Regions from separate parts of the Homo sapiens genome. Here all the other regions are linked to region 1. The links are contacts of gene promoters, found by promoter capture Hi-C in human tissues and cell types (Jung and others, 2019). All regions are on one chromosome and are shown on one strand. Each heading gives the region's core, a stretch centred on a gene start or on the middle of the fragment in contact. The rest is flanking DNA. Distances are from core to core; before and after follow the strand shown.

Region 1 (3,726 bases), core at 897-3,396:
TGTTTTCCACCCTAGCCTTTACAAGCAAGGATAAGTCTAGAAGGTCCATGAAGGCAACCAGAAATTCTTTCATATCTTTTCTAATATAAAAGCCTTTTTAACTAAACATGGTAAGACACTGATCTTGATCCATATGGGCTCCTAGTATCTATTTCTAGAGATCTGTTTTAGCACAAGGTACCACCCTCCTTGTACACAGGTGTCTTCCTGAAACATCTTTTTGGAGAAATAATAATCAAAAAAGTCTAAACTGCAAAATAGGGCAAAGGGAGAGACAAAATTTCATGCAATGACAAGATGCCAGATGCCTTTGGAAGGACTCTGGGGGACAGAAAATGAATGAATTCCTTCTCCTGGACAGAGAGACAGTTCTAGAAATATTTTCCTTCTATTGGAGATTGCAGTCTAGAGATCTGGCTTTGGATACCAGCTCTTCAGCCTGTTTAGAGATCCATTCCCCTAAAACAAGCCTGCGGAGTTGGTAAAATTTCTTAGGAGAAACTGGAAAATGCCAACACCACCACTTGAGCCCAGAGAAGCCCCTGATATTTGCTTTTCACATAACATGGATTTTGTGATCGCTTGCAAGTGAGTAACTGCAATTTTGGGAATTAACCAAAGGGCTGAGCTGCCCAGTCTTTTCATTGCCACTCAGGTTCTACGAAGCCCAAAAAGTTTTCTGGGAGATACTGGTCCAAGGACTCTGTGGACCTTTCCTTTGATGTGTGAGTATTCAAAGAATCCTTTTGCCCCCTGCAGCCCCTTCTGTCTCTTGCTAAAGACAATTGTCTTTAGTTATCACTGCGAGGGAGCTTTCCCCATGCCAGCTGGAATCTTGGGAGGCAGGACACGACTCCAGATCCTCGGGCTGAATAGGGAAGCCAATGCTATCCCTGCCCGCTGGAGTCTGGCGACTCCTGCCCTTGTCCCAAACCACACGTTTTCCCGCCTCCCGGGAAGCACCCAAATCTCTTCCACCCTTCCTTAGAGCTAGCCAGGGAGATTCCGCCTTCCAGGGACAAGGACCGATCGGAGCGGGCCCAGCATCTCCATGGCGACTCTGCAAACCTGGCGTTCAAGGCCGCGCGCGCTGGTCCTTGCCCCGCCCCAGGGCCCTGTCTTGGCTCATTCCTTCCGAGCCGGCACCACCTGCAAGCCCGCCTCGGGCCTGGGGCGCCGCGCTCCAGGCGCTGCTACCCCGGTGTCTGCTCACACTATGCCCAATCCCCTATTGTTTTGAAATCCCAAAAGTAACCTCAAGAGGATTTCTTCCTCACACTCTCAGGCCCCCAGCGCACCTTACCCTTTTTATCAAAATAAAACAACCCTCCACCTCTCGCATTTTCAAAGGATTAAGCAGCAATCTCCAGGAAAGAAAATCAATCCCCTCCCCACCATCCCATCCCCAGCCAAGCTACGGCTCCGCCACCACCTCCGAGGCCCGCCGCCGCCGCCTCTCTATCCGCATCCCGGATAGGGGCGCCACCACCCCGCGCGTGACCCCGCTTTCCCGCGGGTACAGATAAAAATCCCCTCACCCTTCCGTAGATGCCATGGTCTGGGGAACGCCCCCTCCTCTTCAGCACTATCCGGCAGCTGTGGGCGAGGGAGAAAGCGGACGCCGGGGTGAGCGCGAAGTGCGGCCGGGAGCGGTATTTAAGAGGAGCCTCTGCCCGCCCTTCCACCCGCCTCCGGGGTAAGCCCTTTAGCGCCTCAACGGGCGCAGGAGGCTCCTGCGGGCGCTAATCCGCGTCCCGGCTCTCCACGGCGCGCGACCCGCGCTCCCCTCCGCCCGCGGGGATGGCGCTTGGCGGGGAGCTCCGGGGGCTCCGAGGGTGGCTTCCCCGAGAGAGCGATGCGCCCAGGGCTGCAGGAGGGCGCACGCCGGCGATGCGCCCCTGCAGCCGCTGCCACCTGTGCTTTGCTGCGGGGCTCGCGGGCGCGGCGAGTGGCGGGAGCAGAGAGTGGTGGCAGAGGACGGTGAGCGTGCGTGCGCGTGTGCGGGTGTGTGCGCGCCTGGGGAGGCGGTGGAGGCCGCTGCGCTCTGGCTCGGCGCCGGCCAGGGAGGGATTGCAAGGTTTAGCCCCGCCGGAGCTGGGGATTTGCAGGCGATCCCTCTCTATTTTCGTCGAGAGCTGACATCACCCGCGCCGCCGCCTCGGGCAACTCCTTTAACCGCCGCCCCCCGCCCCCATCTCCAGTCGCGGTCCCTCCTCTGCCATCCCTCCCCCCAGCCTCTCGCCATAAATTAGCCAAATAAGAAAAGAGGCCCCGCCGCTCGTCCGGGAAGGCTTGGGCAGCCGGTGGCAGGAGCCCAGGATCTAAGGAGTAGCTATTGTTTCCCCTGAAGCCCGCGTGGCCCCAGGTCACCCCGTGCGGGGTGAAGCGCAGGCGACCGCGCGGAGACCCGGGATGCCCCTCCGTCTCCGCCTCCCTGGAGCAGCCCCTGGCGCTCCCTCCTCACTCCCCGGAGCACCCGCTTCAGCTCACACTCACCCCCAAACTCACAGGCAGGCACACCCACCCCATCCTCCCACGTCTGGGGGTCCCAGGTCCAGCGGAGTCGAGCGGCTGAAACACGCGGGTGGTGCAGCCTAAACGCGGCCCAGCTGCGCTCCCTCCCCCGCCGAAGCTCGAATAAATCTCTGGCCTTCAATTATTCAGCGAGATTAATATTAATGCAGCTCCCTGGGGGCGGCGGGCGGGGTGCAGGGGAGGCCGGGATTTTTTTTTTTTTTTTTTAGGCCGAGAGAGGTCGGCCTCGTGGGTGCCGGCTGAGAAGGCGCGGAGAGTTGGCCGAGGGGTGAGTGGCGGGGGACGGTTCTCCACCCACTCGGCGCTGCTCGCCGCCTGCTTCCGTGTCCCGGGGGCGGCGCACAGAGACAGATGGGCTTGTGCAAGGGAGAGTTCGAGCCTTCCGGACGCCTTTGCATAAAAATGACGAGACCTGTGCAGCTTTGATTATCTCTGGAATACTGCAGGAACCTAGGGTCCCACTACTTGCCGACCCTGTGAGCGCAGAGCAGGCAAAGCCTCACTTTCCTCGTCTAGGCAATGGAACCCAAAAGAACTCACTTGGAGGGCCACAGGAGAATTAAACAGACTCTCTTTTTCCCCGGGGTAGACGATCTTCGGATTTGCGCTGTGCTGGACCTTGTTAGACGATGGAACGCGACCGGCCACGTGCAAACTCTCTGAGTAGGTCCCGGGGATGGTGCCAGAGGAGCCGGAGTCCCAGCAGGACCGATTGGTAGTTAAATGCCAGGCGCTGATATCCGAAGGCTTGAGTTCTTCACCACCTTCTAGCTGAGTAACCTGGGGCAAATTCCTCCATCTCTCTCTTCATCCCACCTGTAAAATGGGACTATCTTCTCCCACTTCTCTGTGCTAAGAGAACTAAATGAAATGGAGAGGATATGTAAAACTCCTAAAGTGGCGTCTGGCACCCAGTAAACCCTCCAAAAATATTCAGTGCATTTTCAGAGTCCTTAGAAGATAGTTTATTGGACAAAATATCCAAGTATGAACAGACAGATGAGAAAAATAACAAGAAAAAGAGGGGAAAACACATTAATAAAATTTAAAAAATAAATCTCTGCTTACCTCCTTCCTTTACTCTCCTTTCCAAAATCTGAATCCAAACGTCATCTTCCATCCATGCCTTTCTCCATCTCTCCCCTCCCCCCTTCTCTCTCAATCCTGTCTGCACCATTAGAATAATCATGT
Region 2 (3,726 bases), core at 405-2,904, 1.1 Mb after region 1:
TGGGATAGATTCCAGCTTTTTGAGAAAAATTAGCTGAATAAGGTATTTTGATTGGTACAAAATGAAGTGAAAGAATGGGAATTTTGGCAGTCTGGCCTCTGTGTTGTCACACCTATATAATACACTAGAAAGATGGAATATGCTGCTCACAGTACCAATAACATGTCTATAATGCAATTGCTCAGTCATAAGTAAAAATTTAAGCACTTAGCAGTACCTCCGTGAGGTCACATTTTAAAGTTTACTCTGAAATAGTCACTATAACACTCCAGCTAACAGGCAACAAAAGTTTCCTTTATTTGTATGTCTAGGGTCCAATGTTACAGAAAGTTAAAGGACCTCTATGTCCTGCTTCTCAGTGGTTTATTCTTTCTTATGATGGAAAAAACTATCCTCAGAAAAAGAAAATGGGATTGTATTGAGATGCACTTTGATTCCTTGAGTGAACATACTCAATGAGAAATTTCAGAGCAGTTCCTTTAAGAACACTGGGGCTAAGTGTTCATTTTTAAAAAGCTTACAGGGAGACAGAAAAAAAAAAGCCTCAGACTTCTTTTTGTGGGTTGTATTTCCTTTTCAGACCACTGTCCCACTACTTTCATGAACATCTTGCTATTAAAAAGCTGCTGAAGATTAGCTACCTTCCTGGGCATGGCAGTGAGCCGAGATCGCGCCACTGCACTTCAGCCTGGGAGACAGAGCAAGACTCCATCTCAAAAATAAAATAATGTGGAGGTTGAGAAAAATCTACCCAAAATAGATCTTGTTAAGTCAGCGCTGTGTAATACATCTTTCCCCAAAATTGAAACAGCAGACATTATCTTTTGTGATTTAAATTAAGCCAAGTCCCGAGTATGGATGTAGTTACTCTTAAATTCAAGTTTTATAGAAAAGTTAATGTAAAAGTTGGCAGATAAAAACTTTGGAGACTAACAAATTGCCAGGACAGACTTATAATGAATTCACTAATATAACTAGATGGCTATTTATTGAAGAACATAAAATCTGCCCCCCTTCATCCAATTTTTTGTCCTGTATAGGACTCCTTAGTTACCTACAAAATTCCCATGTACTTTTGAATTATAGTAAAATGTATCTATTTCCATGGAAATTGCAAGTACTTTCATTCAGTTAAAGCAACCATGATTTACTGATCATCTACTATGGGTCAGGCACTATTTCCAGAACTTGGGAAAAATCAAGAAATAAAACAGATCTAATACTTTGCTCTCAAGGAGCTTATCATCCAGTGGGGCAGACAATAAACACATAAATTATTTGGTGCTTTAGAAGGCAGAAAGTGCTAAGGGAAAAAAGAAAATTAGGGCCAGGTGGAGAGATTGGGATTGTTCGGCAAGAAAGGTGGAACCACGCTGTGGTATAAATACGGTGGTGAGGGGACCTATGAGAAGGTGAGATTTGAGCCAAAGTGGAAGAGTTAAGGGGTTAGCTGTGGCAAGAGTGTTACAAACAGAAGAGCTAAAGCCACCACTCACCAAGGCAGGAGCATGCCTGACATGTTCAAGGGATAGCAAAGAGGGAATGAATGGGTAGAAGGACAAAGAGTGCAGCAGAAAAGAGGTCAGGAAATGAATCATGGGCCTATCACACAGGGTCTTATAAGGATTTTAGCTTTTACTCCCAGATACCCTGCTACAATGGTCTGAGCAGAGATGACATCATCTTACTTATTTTACTAGGTCCACTCCCGCTGCTGTATTGAGAACAGCCTGGAAGACAAGAATAGAAAGCAGGAGGCCTGTTAGAGAGCTGGTGGTGAGTCACAACAGGGTGGTAGCAGAGGGAGGAAGTGAGAAGGGACTGGATTTTGGATATATTATGAAGGTAGAGCCTTCAGTTAATACTTTCTTTAAAAATACTGGTAATTTTACAGTTGACCATACACTTTAGGTAATAAACAAGATTTAACATGCCTAAAATCACAATAACTGATCACTTACAGAGTCAGTATTCTTTGTGTGGTTGAGATTATCCTTATCTAGTAGCATCATAATTTAAGGTACATTTAAAAAATACTATTTTCTTTAAAGCATAGAGTCACTCCCCAGTCTGCATTAGAATTGCTTTAAGTAAAAGTAGCAAATTATTTACTTATTTATCCAAGGGTCAAGAGAGGAGGAGATTCAAGTCACTTTTCACACAACAGTGGAAACTGGGATAAGAATCTAACTTTCTCAATTTTCTGTCCATTGTTCTTTTTTCCTAAGTAGCTTTTTATGTGTAAGACTACTTTTGGGATGTTCCATGTTCTATGTAACAATGTTCTCTGCATCTGGTTCTGTTATAGGACACCATTTTTTCTTATGCTCACGTACCTTATTGATTTTATGATGCAGGCTTTGCAGAACCTATGGCCGCATGGCGTTTGCACTGCTTCTCGTAATGCCATCAAGCAGATGGGGCATTCATACTTGCTTTCCAGGGGTGGGTCAAACTCTACATCATATCCCTGGATCTCCTCCATAAATGAGCTGGAGAGGTTCCCCGTGCTGGCAGTTCCACCCACACTATCATCTTTTGTTACAGCGCTACAGGAGCTGGCCATGGCCACACAGCAGTCACTTTCAGACTGGCTGGATCCACAGCTGTTTTCACAGTTTAGCAGACTCATAGTAACTTGATTATCACTTGCTCTGTAGAAATAGCAAGAAAAAAATGCCTTTATAAGTAACACACACACTCACACCCCACACATATATATCATAGCTTATCTATACAAGTCACTTTTTAATTCATGTACATCAGCTGTATTAATGTTATTTACAGAAAACTTTTAAAAGTGTTTTGAGCTTTTTCATGACTATTATAAGTTACCTGATTCTCTCCTTCAATAAATATATATATTATTATTTGTGCAAATCACTTGGAGCACACAAAGAAAGCTGGGTCCCTTCAGAAGTTCATGATCTAGTAGAACGACAGCATATAAAGTTAAAAAAGGAGAAGCACCTCAGTTGTAATACTCTTCTATATCACAATTATCTGTTTACATGTTTGTTTCCTGTGATTGAGCTAAATATTTTAATTTCCATTTCCGCAGTACTTAGCACACGATTTTTCATACAGTAAGTGTTCACTAAGCATCGCTAAAGAACTTATCCATGTTGTTGAAGTTCCTTGAAGTATCCTGAGCTGAAGGGAATAGTATGGCTAGCAGCTCAGTGCCAGGAAAAGCAGTACGCAAGGAATCAGGTGATCATGTGCCACTGTTAGATGTGTGATTTAGTGCAAGTTACTTAACCATTTAGATCTTGGTTTTTTCTTCTAGGTCTAAAATTCTATAAGGACTTCCAAATGCTCAGTGTGGAGATTTCTATTAGGTATTAAAAATAGAATTGAAAAAGTGTATTTTTATGTCCTTCTGCCTTCAGTCAGGTCAAGTGACTATGTTTCATTATTAATGACTGGAAAAACAAGTGATGTTTTGTTTGCCTATGGAAAACTATTGGTTTCATGAGCAGATGAGATATCCTCAAATTCTAAACCATTATGGTATTTACAGGCGAGAAGCTAATATTTAAAAGCAATTCACAGCCCATGTAACCACAACTGTATTTTAAATAATTACTTTTGAAAAAAATTTCTAGTATGTGTCAGATATCATTCAAGAAACAGAATGTAGGCCTCCAGTCATATTCTCCTGCTTGTCTCACTTTTATATAAAATTCCTGGCTGCCACTTCACCAAATCGAGGATTAAGACAGT
Region 3 (3,726 bases), core at 390-2,889, 1.1 Mb before region 1:
CACCAGAGACTTTGGCAAAAATGAACACAATCAGTGGATCCAACACAAGTTTGTTAAAAACAATTAGAATATCTTATGTGTCAGGCATAACACAAAGTCCCTCACAGGGACTCTTATGAAATTCTCACAACCATCCTATGAGTTGGGTACTATTTTCAGTCCTATCTTATAGAGCTGTGTTTCACAGCCAAGGGTGAATTTGCTCCCCAGGGAACATCTGGAAAAGTCTGGAGACATTTTTGATGGTCTCAACTGGTGGTGGCTATGAAGCATCCTACAATGCCCAAGACAACCTCATGACAAAACATTAACCAGTCCAAAATGTCAATGGTGCCCTGTGATCAAGGAAGAAACTAAGGCACGGAAGTGAAACAACTTGCCCAGGGTCACACAGCTCCCAAGTGAAGTTATGAGGAATTACAGCCAGGCAGCCCCACCCCGTGCTGTGCTCTCACCAGTAAGCCTGGCTGCATCTCTCACATCCCAGGGCACTGAGTATGCATAAGGCACAACCGCATGTGTACAAGCCTCTCATTTTACAGTAGAGGAAATAGAAACATAGTGTGACTTGCTTGAAGGCCTAGGTCAGTAAGAGGCAAATCAATCTGGGACTCAATTCAGACTCCAAAGTCTGGGCCCTTCACTGCTTTGCTACATCGCTGACTCATTCTCTCCCTGTGCTCTAAACACCGAGATGGAGTCAGCAGCCGGACACCATGGGGGACTCGGAGGAAATCAAAGCCCCCTTCATACAGGCTCTTCTGCCAACTCCAGGACAGGTGCACCAAGCTCCCCAAGACCAGTGACCTAGACTCAAATCCCTCTTGGTGCCTTCTCTCCTTCATGTATTAGCCTTTGCTGAGCTGACCCGCCCATCCTTTAGAAGAGCATCGCAGTGTACTCTGCGGCTTCTCTATTCAGCTGAGCTTATTGGTCACCAGCAGGTGACACTTATAAAGGCCCTCCCTGGGCAGCAGAGCTCTCTGTGCCCTCTTCTTCCATCCCCAGGAGCAGCAATAATGGCTCTTTAAAATCAGTGGCACCTCTAGGGTGGGGAGAGCCAGCAAGCAGCATTTAAACAGAGTAACAGCAACCTTTGGAGGAAGATACACCCCTGGGTGTCAGTGCCTGCTCTTTCACTGTGGTCGTGAACACTCACTGGCCTAACAAATGTAAAGTGTCTGGACACCATAGGCCATTAACAAACAAGACCTATAACAAGTGTTGTTCTTGCTATGAGTTTGACCCTAGCTGCCATCTGAATGGGGCCAAGTACTGACCTGTATTTGCTACCTTGGATTCTGTAATTCTTTATAGGAAAAGCACAGGCCTGGGGCTTGAGCAAAATGGGACTTAGTCATTATTGAGCTTAGTTATTATTGAGCTGTGAATTCTGGACTCATGGAGACCTCTCAGTGAAAGGACACACATTCACAGGATTCTCATGGGGACCTAGAAAGCTCACAGATGAGAATAAGCTTGAGGTGTTGTGGAAAAGTCAGACCTATTACTACAGCTGCATAAGAGTAGAAATAGAGGCGAAGCATCTACCCACTGACCTGTCGGACAAAGGATGAATACTGATGGTGAGGTGGGATAAGGACAAAGCTGAGGATGTGCAACCAAGTGTCTCTGGTTTGTTTCAGAACTTCCCATTCTTGGGATGCCAACCCAGGAATGTCTTGGCAATTGATTACCTTGGTTCAGTCCTCAGACTGGAGGCAGATGGAGTGGGACACAGATGTAAACTCTTCTGAGCAATAGTCATCAACATAAATTGTCCTCTGGGGCAGCTCTGTTGGCAAGGGGGCGGTTGGTATTTCCATTCTTAAGGAAACCTTCAACTCAATCCTCCTGTTGACTTTTCTGTGGCCTGCTGTACCAGACGTCTGTTGTGAAGCCCTTCCTCTTGGGTATTGTACACTGAAGACATTCTCCTAAACTGAAAATTCCCCCAACTCACATCTTGCACATCAAAGCCAGACTTGGGAACCCTGCTAGAAAGCAGGGTACCCAAAGGTTGGATGTAGCCCCAAAATGCTGACTCTATTCATTGAGAACAACTTGGAAATTTTCTGCCTTGGTAGAAATGGGGACGGTTCTGATATATCAAAGGAATTCAAATACAAATTTTAAACCTGTATGGCGGGATCTATCATTTGCCCATCATTTATAGAGCACATATTGTAGACACCATGAGAGGTACAGGGAAGACAGCAATGCCTATGAAGTGCACAGTTTTATGGGAGAGACACACACAAGCAGGAAATGATTTAAGAATATGTCCTGGGTGCTGAGGAAACATCACAAAGGGGTGGCTCTTCCAGCTGGGGGAGTCAGGTAGAGCTTTCAGTAGGAGGAAGTGGAACAACTCTACCTTGTTCCTCTTACTACTTAAGGCTAGGGTTGCCTTTCTCAGGCGTGCGAGAAAAAAAAATTTTTCATTTCCAAAGCTTGCTCTGTTTCAGTTTTACCAACTCTCTTGGCTTTAATAAAATGGTTAAAGAGATAGGAAGCAGCCCTCATCCTTCAGACTACCCAGGTGTGGAAACTGATTAAACACCACCTGACAAGCTCAATCAACCCTTGCTGCTTCAGTTGCTTCTCTCAGTAGAAATTCATCCTACAATCTCATCACTAAATAAATCCCACAACCAGAAGAGGTTTCGTCCCTGCTCTACATGCAGCCCTTTTCTTTCTCAGCTCTAAGTGAGATGTTGAGACTTCTCTCAGCTGGTGAATAACTGAATCATTCAGAAAAGTCCTCAGTCACTATTTTTGGCCTAAAGGTCCTTAGTAGTATTGATATTACTGGCTATTACTAATAAACCTTCAGAGAAGCATTCCTTGACTGTCATTTAAATTAGCCCCGTCACACCATCCCATTACCCTGCCCTTTAAAAAAAATATTTTAAACAACACTCATTACCAAGAGAAAATCCTTGCTTATTTACTTTTTCTCATTTCCTCCACTGGATTATAAACTTCATGAGAGGAGGGCTTTTCCCCTTGTTCATCACTTAGTCCACAGCACTTTTAACAGTGGTGGGTACAGGGTCAGTGCTCAATAATTGTTGAATGAATTTACTATTTATTGAGCATTTACTATGTGCTAAGATCTTTCAATCTATAGTCTCATTTAATTCTCATACCACCCATATAAGCTAGGTGCTCTTACTATGTCCCATTTTGCAGATGACAAAATTGAAGGTTAGAATGGTTAAGAAAATTGCACCAGGCCACTCATGTAAATGGCAAAGTTGTGTATGGCCAGGCATGATGGGTCATGCCTGTAATCCCAGCACTCTGGGAGGCTGAAGCGGGAGAATCCCTTGAGCCCAGGAGTTTAAGGCCAGCCTGGGCAACATAGCAAGACCCTGTCTCTACAAAAATAAAATTTTAAAAATTAGCTGGGTGTGGTGGCATATGCCTGCAGTCCCAGCCACTTGGGAGGCTGAGGCAGGAGGAACCCTTAGAACCCAGGAGTTCAAGGTTGCAGTGAACTACGATTTTACCACTGCACTCCAGCCTGGGTGATACAGCAAGACTCTGTCTCAAAATAAACAAATAACAAAATAAAACAAAATAAATGGCAAAGGTAGGCTTCAAACTCTCATGGTGAATCCAAAGTCTTGTGCATGTTACCACTAGGATAGAGCAATCCTTTTGTACACCCTGGATACTTCTTTGGAGCAAGAATATTCTCACCAATATCCTATCACTTAA

Evidence for each region. Contacts are between HindIII fragments. The study calls those that stand out against the background at their distance.
Region 2: a fragment that was not itself captured here is called in contact with the fragment with the promoter of SLC1A2 in region 1 in 1 of the 25 tissues and cell types used here (dorsolateral prefrontal cortex).
Region 3: a contact is called between a fragment that was not itself captured here and the fragment with the promoter of SLC1A2 in region 1, in 1 of the 25 tissues and cell types used here (dorsolateral prefrontal cortex).

What each region holds. Positions count from the first base shown.
Region 1 is chr11:35,417,412-35,421,137 of GRCh38, forward strand. SLC1A2 (solute carrier family 1 member 2) reads right to left here and starts at 2,147. Exons shown (of 11, transcript NM_004171.4): 1 at 1,539-2,147. The coding sequence starts at 1,555. SLC1A2-AS2 (SLC1A2 antisense RNA 2) reads left to right here and starts at 1,646. Exons shown (of 2, transcript NR_186310.1): 1 at 1,646-1,696; 2 at 3,125-3,591. RefSeq lists an enhancer at 1,793-2,293. The HindIII fragment of the contact is 13,805 bases long and covers 1-3,726 here.
Region 2 is chr11:36,498,884-36,502,609 of GRCh38, forward strand. TRAF6 (TNF receptor associated factor 6) reads right to left here. Exons shown (of 7, transcript NM_004620.4): 2 at 2,337-2,654. The coding sequence starts at 2,632. Among named protein-coding and RNA genes, the nearest start is that of TRAF6, 9.5 kb to the right of the region's middle. RefSeq lists an enhancer at 1,915-3,114. The HindIII fragment of the contact is 4,610 bases long and covers 1-3,726 here.
Region 3 is chr11:34,349,506-34,353,231 of GRCh38, forward strand. All of the region lies in intron 1 of ABTB2 (ankyrin repeat and BTB domain containing 2), which reads right to left. Among named protein-coding and RNA genes, the nearest start is that of ABTB2, 6.6 kb to the right of the region's middle. RefSeq lists an enhancer at 2,641-2,690. The HindIII fragment of the contact is 5,708 bases long and covers 1-3,726 here.